Regions from separate parts of the Homo sapiens genome. Here all the other regions are linked to region 3. The links are contacts of gene promoters, found by promoter capture Hi-C in human tissues and cell types (Jung and others, 2019). All regions are on one chromosome and are shown on one strand. The core of a region is centred on a gene start or on the middle of the fragment in contact, and the rest is flanking DNA. Distances in the headings are between cores, read along the strand shown.

The links. The method cuts DNA at HindIII sites, captures the fragments that hold promoters and counts their contacts. A contact is called where the count stands out against the background at its distance.
Region 1: a fragment that was not itself captured here is called in contact with the fragment with the promoter of NTNG1 in region 3 in 1 of the 25 tissues and cell types used here (mesendoderm cells).
Region 2: a fragment that was not itself captured here is called in contact with the fragment with the promoter of NTNG1 in region 3 in 1 of the 25 tissues and cell types used here (H1 embryonic stem cells).

Annotation. Positions count from the first base shown.
Region 1 is chr1:106,851,564-106,856,049 of GRCh38, forward strand. No RefSeq gene overlaps it. Among named protein-coding and RNA genes, the nearest start is that of LINC01661, 36 kb to the left of the region's middle. The HindIII fragment of the contact is 3,613 bases long and covers 346-3,958 here.
Region 2 is chr1:106,674,400-106,679,401 of GRCh38, forward strand. No RefSeq gene overlaps it. Among named protein-coding and RNA genes, the nearest start is that of LINC01661, 140 kb to the right of the region's middle. The HindIII fragment of the contact is 5,746 bases long and covers 858-5,002 here.
Region 3 is chr1:107,139,201-107,143,964 of GRCh38, forward strand. It overlaps NTNG1 (netrin G1), which reads left to right and starts at 1,839. Exons shown (of 8, transcript NM_001113226.3): 1 at 1,839-1,940. RefSeq lists an enhancer at 1,479-2,010 and silencers at 1,944-2,233, 2,254-2,533. The HindIII fragment of the contact is 9,891 bases long and covers 1-4,764 here.

The DNA.
Region 1 (4,486 bases), core at 902-3,401, 290 kb before region 3:
AAGGAGGACAAATGCAAGATATAATACAGAAATCAATGGCTTTTTTATACTAGCAATGTGGCTTGAAATTGAAATGGTATGAAATTATACATTTACAATAACAACAAAAACTATCAGATACTAAGGTGTTAATTTAACAAGAAAATTCAAGATCTAAGTGAAGAACAACATGAAATCTTATTATTAAGGGGCACAAAACCAAAACAAGCAAATGAAGATCTATACTATATTCTTAGATGGGAAAACTTAGTATCATTAAAATGTAAGTTTCCCCAAAAATTAATATATATTTTTTAGTTCCAACACCACAGATTTTTTAAAGGGATATGGATAAAGTATCTTAAAGTTAGTATATCAGAATTATAGGAACTCATAAAGAAACAGGTAATGGAAGAATATTCATTCCACCTGATATTAAAAATTATTATATATTTTCTGCAATTCAATTGTATTGTCATAGGAAGAAAAAATAGATCAATGGAACAAAACTAGTAGTTTAGAAATATAACACAGCATAAGTGGAGATCCACTATTTGACAAAGGTGGTTTTAATTAATCAGCAAATATATAATTTATTTAATAAAGAATGTTGGAACAACTGGCCATCCATCTGGCAATACATAAAGCTGAACTGGTACCTCATACATGAAGAGATACAAAAATAAATCCAAATGTGTTAAGAAACTAAATGTAAAATGAAATACATAAAGAAAGATAGATATGCAAATATAACTTTGGATAGGGAAAACTTCTTAAACAAAATGAAAAATCCAGAAGTTTTAAAAGATAAGATAGCTATATTTAACTATGTAGAAATTAAACATTTTTTGTATGGAAAATAATACCACAAAACAGTAAAAAATAGATTAAAAAATATTTTCAACATATTTAACAGAAAAAAAAATTGCTAACCATAGTACAAAAAGAACTTTTTCCAAATTCATAAGAAAAAGTCAAACCACTTAATAGAGAAATAATCAAATAATACGAACACATAAATAACTGGAGAACAAATCCAAATGTAATTAATATACAGTCAGTAGACATATAACCTCATCAGTAGGCAAGGAAATATAAGCTAATATCATTAAGACATTTCTGGTAATTACCAGACTGGCAAAATTAAAACCAAAGGAGAGCTAAAGACCTTTCTGGTGAGAATGGACACAGAACAGAATAAAAGAAAAATAATTTTTCCCTGTGGTAAATAATGTCAATATATATTAAAAATACAAATAACCTTTGTATCAGTCAGCATTCTGGGCTGTAATAAGAGAAATGGGTCCTGAAATTTAAATAGGAAAGCAACTTATTGACAGAATATCAATCATTTACAGAATTTACAAAAAGACTAAAGAATGAAACAATGAAAATGGGCAAGGAAGAGACCTGGGCAAGATGGCCAAATAGGACCAGCTCCTTTCTGCAGCTCCCAAGGAGATCAATGCAGAAGGCGGGTGATTTCTGCATTTCCAACTGAGGTACTTGGCTCATCTCATTGGGACTGGTTAGACAGTGGGTGCAGCCCATGGAGGGCAAGCAGAAATAGGGTAAGGCATCGCCTCACCCAGGAAGCACAAAGGGTTGGGGAACTCCCTCTCCTAACCAAAGGAAGCTGTGAGGGACTGTGCCCCAAGGAATGGTGTATTCCAGCCCAGATACTACATTTTTCCCACAGTCTTTGCAACCCACAGACCAGAAGATTCCCTCCGGTGCCTACACCACTAGGGCCCTGGGTTTCAAACACAAAACTGGGCGGCCATTTGAGCAGACACTGAGCTAGCTGCAGGAGTTTTTTTTCGTACCCCAGTGGCACCTGGAATGCCAGCGAGACAGAATCATTCACTCCCCTGGAAAGGGGACTGAAGCCAGGGAGCCAAGTAGTCTAGCTTAGCAGATCCCACCCCCATGGAGCCCAGCAAGCTAAGATCCACTGGCTTGAAATTCTCACTGCCAGCACAGCAGTCTGAAGTCCATCTGGGATGCTCAAGCTAGGTTGGGGGAGGGGTGTCTGCCATTATTGAGGCTTGAGTAGGCAGTTTTCCCCTCACAGTGTAAACAAAGCCACTGGGAAGTTCAGACTGGGCAGAGCCCACCACAACACCTCAAAGCCCCTGTAGCCAGACTGCCTCTCTAGATTCCTCCTCTTTGAGAAGGACATCTCTGGAAGAAAGGCAGCAGCCCCAGTCAGGTGATAATAAATAAAACTCCCATTTCCCTGTACAGAAACCTGGGAGAAGGGGCAGCTGTGGGTGCAGCTTCAGCAGACCTAAACATTGCTGCCTGCCAGCTCTGAAGAGAGCAGCAGATCTCCCAGCACAGTGCTCCAGCTCTGCTAAGGGACAGACTGCCTCCTCAAGTGGGTCCCTGACCCCCGTGCCTCCTGACTGGGAGACACCTCCCAGCAGGGGTCAACAGACACCTCATACAGGAGAGCTCTGGCTGTCATCTGGCAGATTCCCCTCTGGGATGAAGCTTCCTTAGTAAGGAACAGGCAGCAATATTTGCTGTTCTGCAGCCTCTGCTGGTGATACCCAGGCAAACAGGGTCTGGAGTGGAACTCCAACACACTCCAGCAGACCTGCAGCAGAGGGGCCTGACTATTAGAAAGAAAACTAACAAACAGAAAGGAATAGCATCAATATCAACAAAAAGGATGTCCATATAAAAATCTCATCTGAAGGTCACCAACATCAAAGACCAAAGGTAGATAAATCCACAAAGATGAGAAAAAAACAGTGCAAAAAGGCTGAAAATTCCAAAAACCAGTACAGCTCTTCTCCTCCAAAGGATCACAACTCCTCATCAGCAAGGGAGCAAAACTGGACAGAGAATGAGTTTGACGAATTGACAGAAGTAGGCTTCAGAAGGTGTGTAATAACAAACTCCTCCAAGCTAAAAAAGCATGCTCTAACCCAATGCAAGGAAGCAAATAACCTTGAAAAAAGGTTAGAGGAATTGCTAACTAGAATAACCAGTTTAGAGAAGAACATAAATGACCTGATGGAGCTGAAAAACACAGCACGAGAACTTAGTGAAGCATACACAAGTATCAATAGCTGAATCAATCAAGAAGAAAAAAGGATATCAGAGATTGAAGATCAACTTAATGAAATAAAGCAGGAAGACAAGATTAGAGAAAAAAGAAAAGGAATGAAAAAAACTTCCAAGATATGTGGGATTGTTTGAAAAGACCAAACCTACGTTTGATTAGTGTATCTGAAAGTAACAGGGAAAATGGAACCAAGTTGGAAAACACTCTTCAGGATATTATCCAGGAGAAATTCCCCAACCTAGCAAGACAGGCCAATATTCAAATTCAGGAAATACAGAGAACACCACAAAGATACTCCTTGAGAAGAGCAACCCCAAGACACATAATCGTCAGATTGAACAAGGTTGAAATGAAGGAAAAAATGTTAAGGGCAGCCAGAGAGAAGGTCCGGTTACCAACAAAGGGAAGCCTGTCTCTCTGCAGATCTCTCTGCAGAAACCCTGCAAGCCAGAGGATAGTGGGGGCCAATAGGCCCAGAATTTCATATCCAGCCAAACTGAGGTTCATAAGTGAAGGAGAAATAAAATCCTTTACATACAAGCAAATACTGAGAGATTTTGTCACCACCAGTCCTCCCTTACAAGAGCTCCTGAAGGAAGCACTAAGCATGGAAAGGAAAAACTGGTACCAGCCACTGCAAAAATATACCAAATTGTAAAGATATCGACACTATGAAGAAACTGCATCAACTAACGGGCAAAATAACCAGCTAACATCATAATGACAGGATCAAATTCACACAAAACAATACTAATCTTAAATGTAAATGGGTTAAATGCCCCAATTAAGAGATACAGACTGGCAAATTGGATAAAGAGTCAAGATTCATCAGTGTGCTGTATTCAGGAGACACATCTCACGTGCAAAGACACACATAGGCTCAAAATGAAGGGATGGAGGTATATTTACCAAGCAAGGGGAAAGCAAAAAAAGCAGGAGTTGCAATCCTAGTCTCTGATAAAACCGACTTTAAACCAACAAAGATCAAAAAAGACAAAGAAAAACATTACATAATGGTAAAGGGATTAATGAAACAAGAAGAGCTAACTAACCTACATATATATGCACCCAATGCAGGAGCACCCAAATTCATAAAGCAAGCTCTTAGAGATCTACAAAGAGACTTAGACTCCCACACAATAATAGTGGGAGGCTTTAACACCCCACTGTCAATATTAGATTAATGAGACAGAAAACTAACAAGGCTATTCAGTACTTGAACACAGCTCTGGACCATGTGGACCTGATAGACAACTACAGAACTCTCCACCCCAAATCAACAGAATATACATTCTTCTCAGCACCACATCACACTTATTCTAAAATTGACCACACGATTGGAAGTAAAACACTCCCCAGCAAATGCAAAAGAACAGAATTCATAACAAACAGTCTCTCAGGCCACAGTGCAATCAAATTAGAGCTCGGGAT
Region 2 (5,002 bases), core at 2,481-4,980, 460 kb before region 3:
TGTATTTGCCACATTTATAATTAGATGTATCTAATGATAACCTACATGTCATAAAACAATACTAAACGTTGTTTCATAAATTTAAAAAGATAAAAGTAATTCTCATGAAGAATCAGAAATGGCTTCAAAAAGGAATTGTCAGTGTAGAGGATTGTCTGGGTGACAGAAAGACAAAATGCATGAAAAATCAGTGAAGACACCATTGCAATATCGTATTCTTAGTATTCTAAGAGCTGAGGCTAGTGTCTTGGGCTGTAAGTGCCTCTTAAGTAGTCGCTGAATGTGAACAATATTGGACCGAAGGTTATCTTTGACAACAAACTGAGTTACCAGATAGAGAGAAGGACACAAGCTTTTCTCATCAGCTATACTAATTACCTTATTGGAAAGTTCTGTATTTTAGCATGTATTTTGAGATTTTAATTTCTTATTAAATAAAAACACATTGGGAAATGTTATTTATATAGTCATTAGCATGTTGGAAATATGGAAAGTTGCAAACAACACAAAAGTGATAAAATATTTGCAAATTTCAGGTTGAGAAGATTTCCAATTAAACGAACCCTTATTATCTTTACATTTATATTTTTTGATAAAAGGAGTATAGCAATAGTTTATAAATGCAGATGTAAGAAAATATGAGAAGAAAAAATTATTTGTATTCAAGTCTAAGGTGACCTCCATACCACAGACTAAATCTATCCACCCACCCACTGAAATAGCACCTGCTCTGGAGGGTCTAATTTCACTTTCAGCAGCATTACTGAAAGAATAGGCAGAAGAACCTAGCAAGTCCACTAAATATGGACTTCATCAATCAGCTAGCAAACACAGCCATGTCTAAAAGAAGTCAATCATTACTTCTATTGGGTCAGAAAGCAGAAAATCAAATATAAAGCATGTCTGGATTTCTTCAAAAGTAGCATGTTGTTTGAGGCCAACAGAACTTTTCTTAAGTATTCTTTCTCCCTGCAAAAGATATTATGAACATTTCAATCGTAGACAACCCTACAATTTCAAAAGAATTTGGTACAAAAATGTCACTTACAACAAAGGTAAACTATAAAATATAGATGAGGGAGGAAGCAGAAGTAAGTTTAAAAAAAGTTTCTTTTTAAATTTAAAACCTTCAAAATTAATTCCTACCTCATGTAGCTGTGACAAATGAGAAATCTTAGAAGAGAGTTACAGAAGGAGACCAGTGGGTGAGACTGTACACAGAGAGACAGTTACATCGTCAGAAAGCCAGACCTCTTGTGCCATTCTCACTCCCTCCTCATACTTCCCAGCTTTGGCACTTTATGCAAATATGTACCTTATTCCTAGCACATATCCACAGATTTCCTCCACTCTCTAAAGAAGCTTGGAGAACTCCCTAAAGAGAGCTGGAGGTGTGGGGATGTGTATTCATTTGCCACCATTGGGCAATCAGGTTAAATAAACTTGTTTTACTGCAATCTCCAAGGTTGCAAGCAAACTAAAGCAAAGAATGAGTGTATGAAAATGCTGCATGGATAAATGTGGGAAAGGAAGATTACTAAATGCACAGTTAGTGAAAAATTTCCAAAGCATTATTATATCTGTGCACAGCTTTACAATTTTAACAATATCGCAACTTTAATTTTTAGATTTTCAAGTAAAGACTCTGCTGAATTGCCAGTGTTCTACAGACCAGAACAAAACCTGACTTAGTAGAATGGATTACACAAGTAAGTCATGTAAGGCAGCATGAAGACCACCCAGCTTTACTTTGTGAGGTGTAATTCTCACTGTAGACTTCCATGTCATTCAAAGCAGAGCATTTAGGGCAGAAAACCTCAGGATATTGTGCAATATCCTTTTAGGACTGGCCCATTCCCAAGCTGTACTGTAATCAGTGGATTAAAAAAAAAAAAAGCACGTAAGCATAAATTGGGAGAGTGTAAGAGATAAAGTCAGATTTCTTCAGTTTTAAGTGGGGGGGACCTATCTTATATCTACCCCCAGTACCAAGAACAATGCCAAGAGGGCACGTGCTTCTTATATACAGTATAGGAAGCAATGCACATAGCCTTGTTCATTGCACACTTGCTGTGCGACCATAGGCAAGTCATTTTCCGTCTCCAACTTTAGTATGTCCCTTACAAAGGGTGGTTGGTAATGAAACCTCTCTCTGGGATTGTTTCAAAATGTGATTAGATTACGCCTGTGAAAGCACTCTGTGAACCCTAAAGTGCTCTGCAAATATAAGGGATAAAATGTTGGAAAGCTGCCTCTGGATGATTCCTTCTCAAATATGCCCAGATATTAACATTTTAGTGGTGAAAAAAAGACTGCTAATATTTCCCATTGGCACTTTTCTATTGCAGAAGTAAGTAATCTAAGTAGACGCAGTACTTTTTTTCCTCAAGACTCAACAAAGCTACTTTCATTTAAATTGCAGCACGTCAACATTTTTATTTTCCCCGAGTTGACTGTTTTGGGAAATATATATATGCTCACCCCTTGTCTAATTTCCATTAGACTCTGAAAGTCAGAGTAGCCCTATCCTGGTCTTGACATTACATCTCTCTGTGTGACCTTGGGCAAATTACTGTTCTTGCTATCATTAGTTCAGTACAGGTATATATATGGCCCCTAATGCATGCCAAGCTCTGTGTTAGGCTCAGCCTGAGATACTGAAAAAAGAGCAAAAGTCCCCTACAGCTAAGAAGTTTACATTAAGTTTTTTAGTCTCCCAAACAGAAATGATAATCACTGTGCTATCCACCTCCCAGATTTGATGTGAGGTTAAAAGACAGCACAGAAGAGTACTTGGCAAAATTCAAAAATGGTACATAAATGCAACATGTTATTATTACCAAACATAAAATTATCAACAGCGTATAGATGGTGAAAGAATACTTGAGAGAAGAGGAGATTAATATTTATCGAGCTTCTGCTCCATACAGAGAAATGTACATATATTACTCTACCTACACAACAAACTGGTTAGGTGGATATTAATCACTGCTTTTGACCAAAGGGAAATACAATAGTTAAAGGAATCTAGTTAAAAAATCAGAGCCACTATTCAAACCATAGCCTGATTGCAAAAGACTCTACAGAAACCGTTTATATAGATTTTTATATTGCTTCAGAAATCCACATATATTTCACCAGAAAAGAAAGAGCCCCCAAAAGTTAACAAGCAGCAATTTCAGTTGCAGAAGTAGACAAGAACATATTTTTAACTTATTTTTAAAAATAACAAAGAAGGAAAGAAACAAAATGAACTAATTTAATTAATAGAGCAACACAAGGAATCAAAAAAGGTATCATTATCTTTTCTAATTCCCTAAACAAGGCTCCTGCCTAAAATGATTTTTGTTTAAAAGCAAAACTAATGTTGTTTTCTGAATCCTTAAGTAGATAGAATGGATGGAAAGCTGCACATTTCAGCACTCACACAGTTAAAAGAATCACTTGAGAGGGCTTCGTGAAATCGAAATTTCTGTAATGCTTTCTGTGTGGATTAGCATACCAAGCAAAGTACAAAGGTAGCTTAATGCCTAGATATATTAAAACCAAGAGCTTAACTTCTAATATCCTCTCTCCAATCAGGTATGGATTTACAAAACATTTTACTCTTGTTGTTAGTTTTCCTAGCTAAAACTCACAACTAAATCCATCAGCGTAAAAGATTGTTGAGTTATATTGGTATGATTTTCAAAATTTATTTTCAACCTATAAAGCAGAATAAGATAAACTCCAGGGGTATGCGAAAGCTGGAAACTGCTTAGAAGCAGCTAACAGGGCACATATAAATCAAGCAGCCTGGAATTATAAATATGTAATAACTGTTTAGAAAAAAAATTTAATGATTGAATCTCTTGCTGACCTAAATGGATATGAATTAACACTTCTCCTTCACAGTGGGAAGATAACTAGTAATATTTATCTAGCATCTACTAAATGCTAGACCTGTGTCAATGCATTTTATACATTATCTCATTTACTTCCCATAAGAAAAACCCTATGAAGAGAGTAATATTGTATTTATGTTCTAGCCAGATGATGGAACTTCCAGATGATAGAACTGAGATTTAGAATTTAAATAATGGTCCAAGAGTGCACAGCTAATAAATAACGGAGCCGGAATTGAACTCAGCCTGTCTCTTTCTACTATCCTATTCCATGTCAGGTGCCATAGAGGATCACACCTCTTTTCTGTGTGCCATTTGCAAATATAAAAAAGCTTGGAAGGCAATGAAAAGAATTCCAAGTATAGATTCATTCACTGATTTAACAAATAATTCTTAAGTACCTATTCTCTGTCAAGCCCAGTGATGAAAAGCACAGTCGTGAAGGAAATAAATGTGGGCCTTGCTCTCATGGGGTTTACAGTACAGATTATTTTAGGCTTTGAGACTGAGCCTTTCCCAGACACTCCAAAATTGAGAAGAAACTCCTCATAAATTGAGACTCTATGTGGTGAGTCAGATATGCCTACTCTATTACTTACTGGCTGTTGACACATGCTAAATAGTAAACATACTTTATAGATGAGTGTCATCTATAAAATAGAGATAATAAAAATTGCACTATCCACCTCAAGATAGTATTGTAAAGAATAAATAACATAATGCATGTGAAATTATCACAAACATTCAAAGATAGACACATACATCTGTGTATATATACATACATAAAAGGATAATCATTATGCTTTTCAAGGTGAAGACATTATATATTTACCTTATTGAAATAACAATTAGCCAAGGGCAGTGGCTTATGCCTATAATCCCAGCACTTTGGGAGGCAATGCAGGAGGATCCCTTGAGCCCAAGAATTCAAGACCAGCTTGGGCAACATGACAAGACCCCATCTCTACAAAATTTGTTAAAAAAATTTTCAGGGCATGATGGCATGCCCTTGTTGCCCCAGCTACTTGGGAGGCTGAGGTGGGAGGATTGCTTGAGCCTAGGAGTTTGAGGCTACAGTGAGTTATGATTATGCCACTGCATTCCAGCCTGGCCAACAG
Region 3 (4,764 bases), core at 589-3,088:
TCATCACAGAAAAATGACCCAATTACTCAGCCTCCTGCCTTAATTGTGGGACACATAGTGACTAAGTGTTCACAATTGCCCATTTCTTCCACCCCCCCCCCACCCGCCACTTTGCCTTGACCAAACATGAGTCAGGCTTCTCTCCAGCAGGTCCCTGGAATTTAGCTTGCCCCCCAAATCTGAGCAAGAACTAAAATGTGAAACATTCACCATTGTTAGCTTATCTTCCAAATTCTTGGACCACAGAGACACATTTCTTGTTCAACCAAGAGGGTCTTGAAGTGAGTTGTTTCCCCCATCCACTTGGCTTTGCCTATTGCTTGCTCCCCCTTATATATATAGAAAAAAAAGGCCGATTTCTGTTTGGTTTTGAGAGGTTTGCAGATTTCTGAGATCAGAGCGTTTTCCCTGTTGCAATAGTCTTTCTTTCTAATGGAAGTCTCCCTATCTTATCTAAATTCGGATTTGTTTCTGTTTGACGTTAATGTGTAGCTAAGAGTGATCCCAGGTGAGTCTGAGCCCGCCTTGGTGGGGAATGAAGCCTGGAGCATCGGAGCATTTGTCTTTCTCTTAGAAAAGGCAAGGAAGCCTGAAATGCGCAGCTCTCCCTTGAACTTCAACTTTTTAAAGGGGAATGAATTTCTAAAGGAGGAGTTTCCAGTCTAGGGCTGTAGGGGCCTCCGGGCAAAGGAAGTGCTTGTTGAAAAACAACATTGTGATCACTTCCAGCGGCGAAGGGTGTGCTTGGGAACGGTTTGGGGAGGGGACAGAAGAGAGAGGGGTGGGATGGACGGCGGCAGAAGTGGGAGGTACACGAGGAGTTACTGGAAACGGCGCTTCTGTGGAGGAGCCGGGGGGGATGGGGAGTAGAGGGAGGGGGCCCTGTTGCCTCAGCGCCCCGAGGTCGTGGAGCGGCAGCAGCTGCAGCCGGAGCAGCACCAGCAACAGCAACAGCGAGCGGGACGGAGTTAGGACCGCTCGGAGCGCACAGGTCTCGAGGTAGTATAAGGTTTGCTATCCTTCCACTTGCTGGCAGTTGCAGAAGAAGATCTGCTTTTTAAGTGAAACGTACATGCCACCCCTCCGAGGGCTGCGGCTTCCCCGGGCTTGCTTCTTTGCCGCTCCTCTTTCCGGCTCTCGCGCTCACTCTTTAATTGGCACTGGCCCCTAAGTTTGCCAGGAGCTCGCTGCCCGCTCGGAGCAGGGTCCCGGCCGGGAGCCGCTGGTGGGGGCGGGGAGTCCGGGAGCCGCAATCCAGAAGCGTCGTGGGCCATGTATATTTCATCAAACGGACTTTGGGTGCGTCGCGTCTCACTGCCATCAGTGCTATGTGCAGTGACATTTCTGACTTGAGTGGAGGAATGCGCGAAGGAAACCCGGGCGAAATTGGTATTAGAGGATCTTCTTGGCGCCAATGCTAATTGTCCTGATTTATGCCCCTTCTGACTAAGCTCAACGTCTTCATCTGAAATAAAATGAAAGCGGTGCCAAGCGGCATAGAACCGCCTGGCCGCTGGTTCTGATCCCCGGGAACCAGAAAATCGTCCTGCGGCTTGAAAAAAAAAAAAAGAGGAAAAAAAAAAGAAATAGAAATAGAAAAAAGAAAAAATATCCCTCAGTAAAAGTTTAAGGCGAGAAGTGTCAGAGGCAGCGGAGCGAGGAGGCGCGGAGGAGAGCCGGCGAGCAGGGGACTGGGCTGGCACGACCTCCGAAGGCTGAGATCTCATTATTAATATCACTATATTTTTGGAGGGAGAGGCACCTTTCTCATCCTCTCTTCCTCTCCGCCCACCCTTACTCCCTCCCCCTCATCTACCTGTCAAAGTCACTGATCTTTTGCATTTCGGAAGAGGACGTCAACGGGAAGGAATTCCCCCTCTGGGTGCGGGCTCCGAGAGGGGGCGACTTGCAGGAGGCTCCCCCCGGGGGCGGAGGCGAAGGTAATTAAGCGGCGGGGAGTGGCGGGCCGGCGCTGGGTTCTCGGTCCTCGGGGTCCTCTCCCGCCGGCGGCCGGGCGCGATCGGAATCCCCGGGCTGCGGCGGTGGCGGCGGCTCGGGTCCTCACGCCCACCCCTCCCGCTCCGCCCGCTCCCGCCTGGGGAGGAGGCTCCGCGGGAGCTGCCGCCCTCCGCCCGTACGCCGCCCGCGGGCTCCGCTGCTGCGGCCGCCGCCCGAGGCGGACCAGGCTGGCTGCGCAGGGCCGCCGCCCCGCGCCGTCGGCTCGGCTCCCGCCCGGCGCAAGGGCAAACGAGCCACACGGTAAGTGCCTGCGGCTCGCCTCTCCTACTGCGACCCGAGCCTCTCGCCCGTGCCCCTCTCCCCCGGGTTTCCCCACCCCCCGCCGCCCCCCGCCCCACCCGCTGCGATGCACAGGCGGGAGGGAAGGCTCCGGGTGGGCGAGGAACTTTGTAAAGCGCCCCGAGGAGGCAGCGCGCGGAGCCCTACGCGCACACACAGCGGCACACGCTCACACCCACACACAAGTCTTCCCGGGGGTGCGCCCCGGGCCGGTGATGCGTCCTCTTGTTGTGTCCGGAGCCCAGGCGTGGGGTCTGAGCCTCCATCCGCCGACTGACAGGGGCCCCGCGCTCTCCCTCTCTCACGCACACCTGGCCACACACATCGCTCAGGCGGCTTGTCGTTATTTTTTCTTTCTTTCGCCAATTATATTTGTTTGGGGAAAAGCAAACAAAAAAAACAAAAAAACACTTGCCCTATTGCCGGCCTTGGGGATCTGGTGGCCACATCGAGAGCTTTTGAAGTCCCTTCTTTTAATCGCCTTTATTGGTGCTAGATTAAAACATTACTATCCCATGTTGTGCAGCTGGGGAGAAAGGGAAATTGAAAGAGGAAGACTTGGTGTAGGGATGCTGTTTGGAATATTCTCTCATATTCTTTACTGGCATCATATTAATCGGTTGATGGATTCGGCTAGGGACACTGAATTGCACTCCTGTATGGATCTGTGGATATCTATATATAATACAAATAATACTGAATATTATTGGGCCTAAAATAACCAATTAAGTGATTCATACAAGGAAAAACTTAGATATAAAAAGAAACTGCGCCCTCTGCTGTTAATTTTAGTACCCTCACCCGGGGACTTTTTTTTTTTTTCCTTCAGAAATCCACTTAAGAGTAGGCTGTCATCTTACAGGGCAAGGGAAGAAAATTCCTAGCGGGGATTTTAAAGCAACTTTACTTGGAAAAGTCGCAGGTTGAGCTCCTATAGTTGCATCAGGTACAGATTTCCAGTGAGTAGACGGTCCTCCTCTCTCACCCATTCTTCTCTTTATACAGGGAATAATGGAGCCACTCCTCATAACAAATTGTCAATCTTTGGAATGGAAAATTCTGAGTAAGATTCAGAACTCCACTAAACATATGGTGAATCTGGCAGTAGAATTGCTCTAGAAATAAGGCCCTGTTTTATGACTGAAAATACTAAAAGTTGTTTTATCTTACAGAAATGAAAAAAAAAAAAACCCAGGAAGATCTTCCATTAAAATCACTTATTCAGATATGCTTAGTAGTTAAGCTTGTTGGAAAGTTTTCCAAAAAATAATTTTTTTTTTTTTCAGGGGAGGCTTTTCTGTTTTGTTTGTCCCTTGAGGAGGATCTCTAGTGAGGGAATTAGCAATTCCACATTTCATTAAGTATTTTGAACTGTGTCACTTTGAATGCCTTACCCGCCTCCCTTTCTCTTTGGCAAAGGAAAAGCAGCTCAGTAACTGTCCAAGATTCTTTTTGAAGATAAGCAACTTTCGATTTTTCATTAAGATAAAATTTGGATCTCTGCATGTGGATCAACATGCAAGGAAAAATGTGCATCAAGTATTTCACATGTAATGTTGTTCCAGGGATATATTTTCTTTTCTGGATGCCGTGAAATGAGATATATTTCACCCACTGAAGACCACCATGAAGGCATTCAGGATTCTATATACTGCACTACTAATTTGGTGGTATTTCCTTACTGTGGAATTTAAGACGGATAATCTTAAAACTTTTGCATGGAAACAGTTTATTTGAACATAAAGCTGGTTTCCTGTTAATATTTTTGTTTTGTCAGTTTTCAATGGGTATATGTGTTAAAATGATTCAGGTTAGCCTTTTTAGGAGGAGGCAAATGTATTTTGCAGTTTCCTTTTGTATATTTGCAAGTGGTGCAAATACCTATTTTTGCTTCCATTATTATTCTGAAAAATATTCAGGTAATTTGTTTAAAAAGTTAAACCATTACACATTTATTTGATAGGATTTCTAAGTGTCATAAAAATTTGGAGAGTTTTAGTTACAAAGGCATCAAGTCACTTGGAAAAAAGAAAATTGGATTCAACTTTGAAAACCAATTATATGTTAACATTGAAATATATGTGTGTGAATTATATTGTATAGGAGATTATATTAGTAAAGTCTTAGGTTAGTATGAGATTTAGCATACTTTAAAAAATAATTTTATTTGCAGAATCCAAAGTTCTGTTTCAAAACTTCAGGTAGGTGTAGATTTTCTCATATATGCGTTTGAGACCTTAGATCTCTGAACTTCCCTGCATGAGAATTAAATATTTGTTTTTCATGTGGTAATTAAATTCCAGATTTCTTCTAGGCTTAACTGATTCTGAAATAGTTTTGGGTATTATCCCATCCTCAATCATCCTGCAAAACATGTGCTATCTAATTTCTTGAATCAGTCTTCTCTCAATGAAAATAGAGATCTTTCAATTACCACGGTGTGTTATTTGGGTTTATTAAGAATCT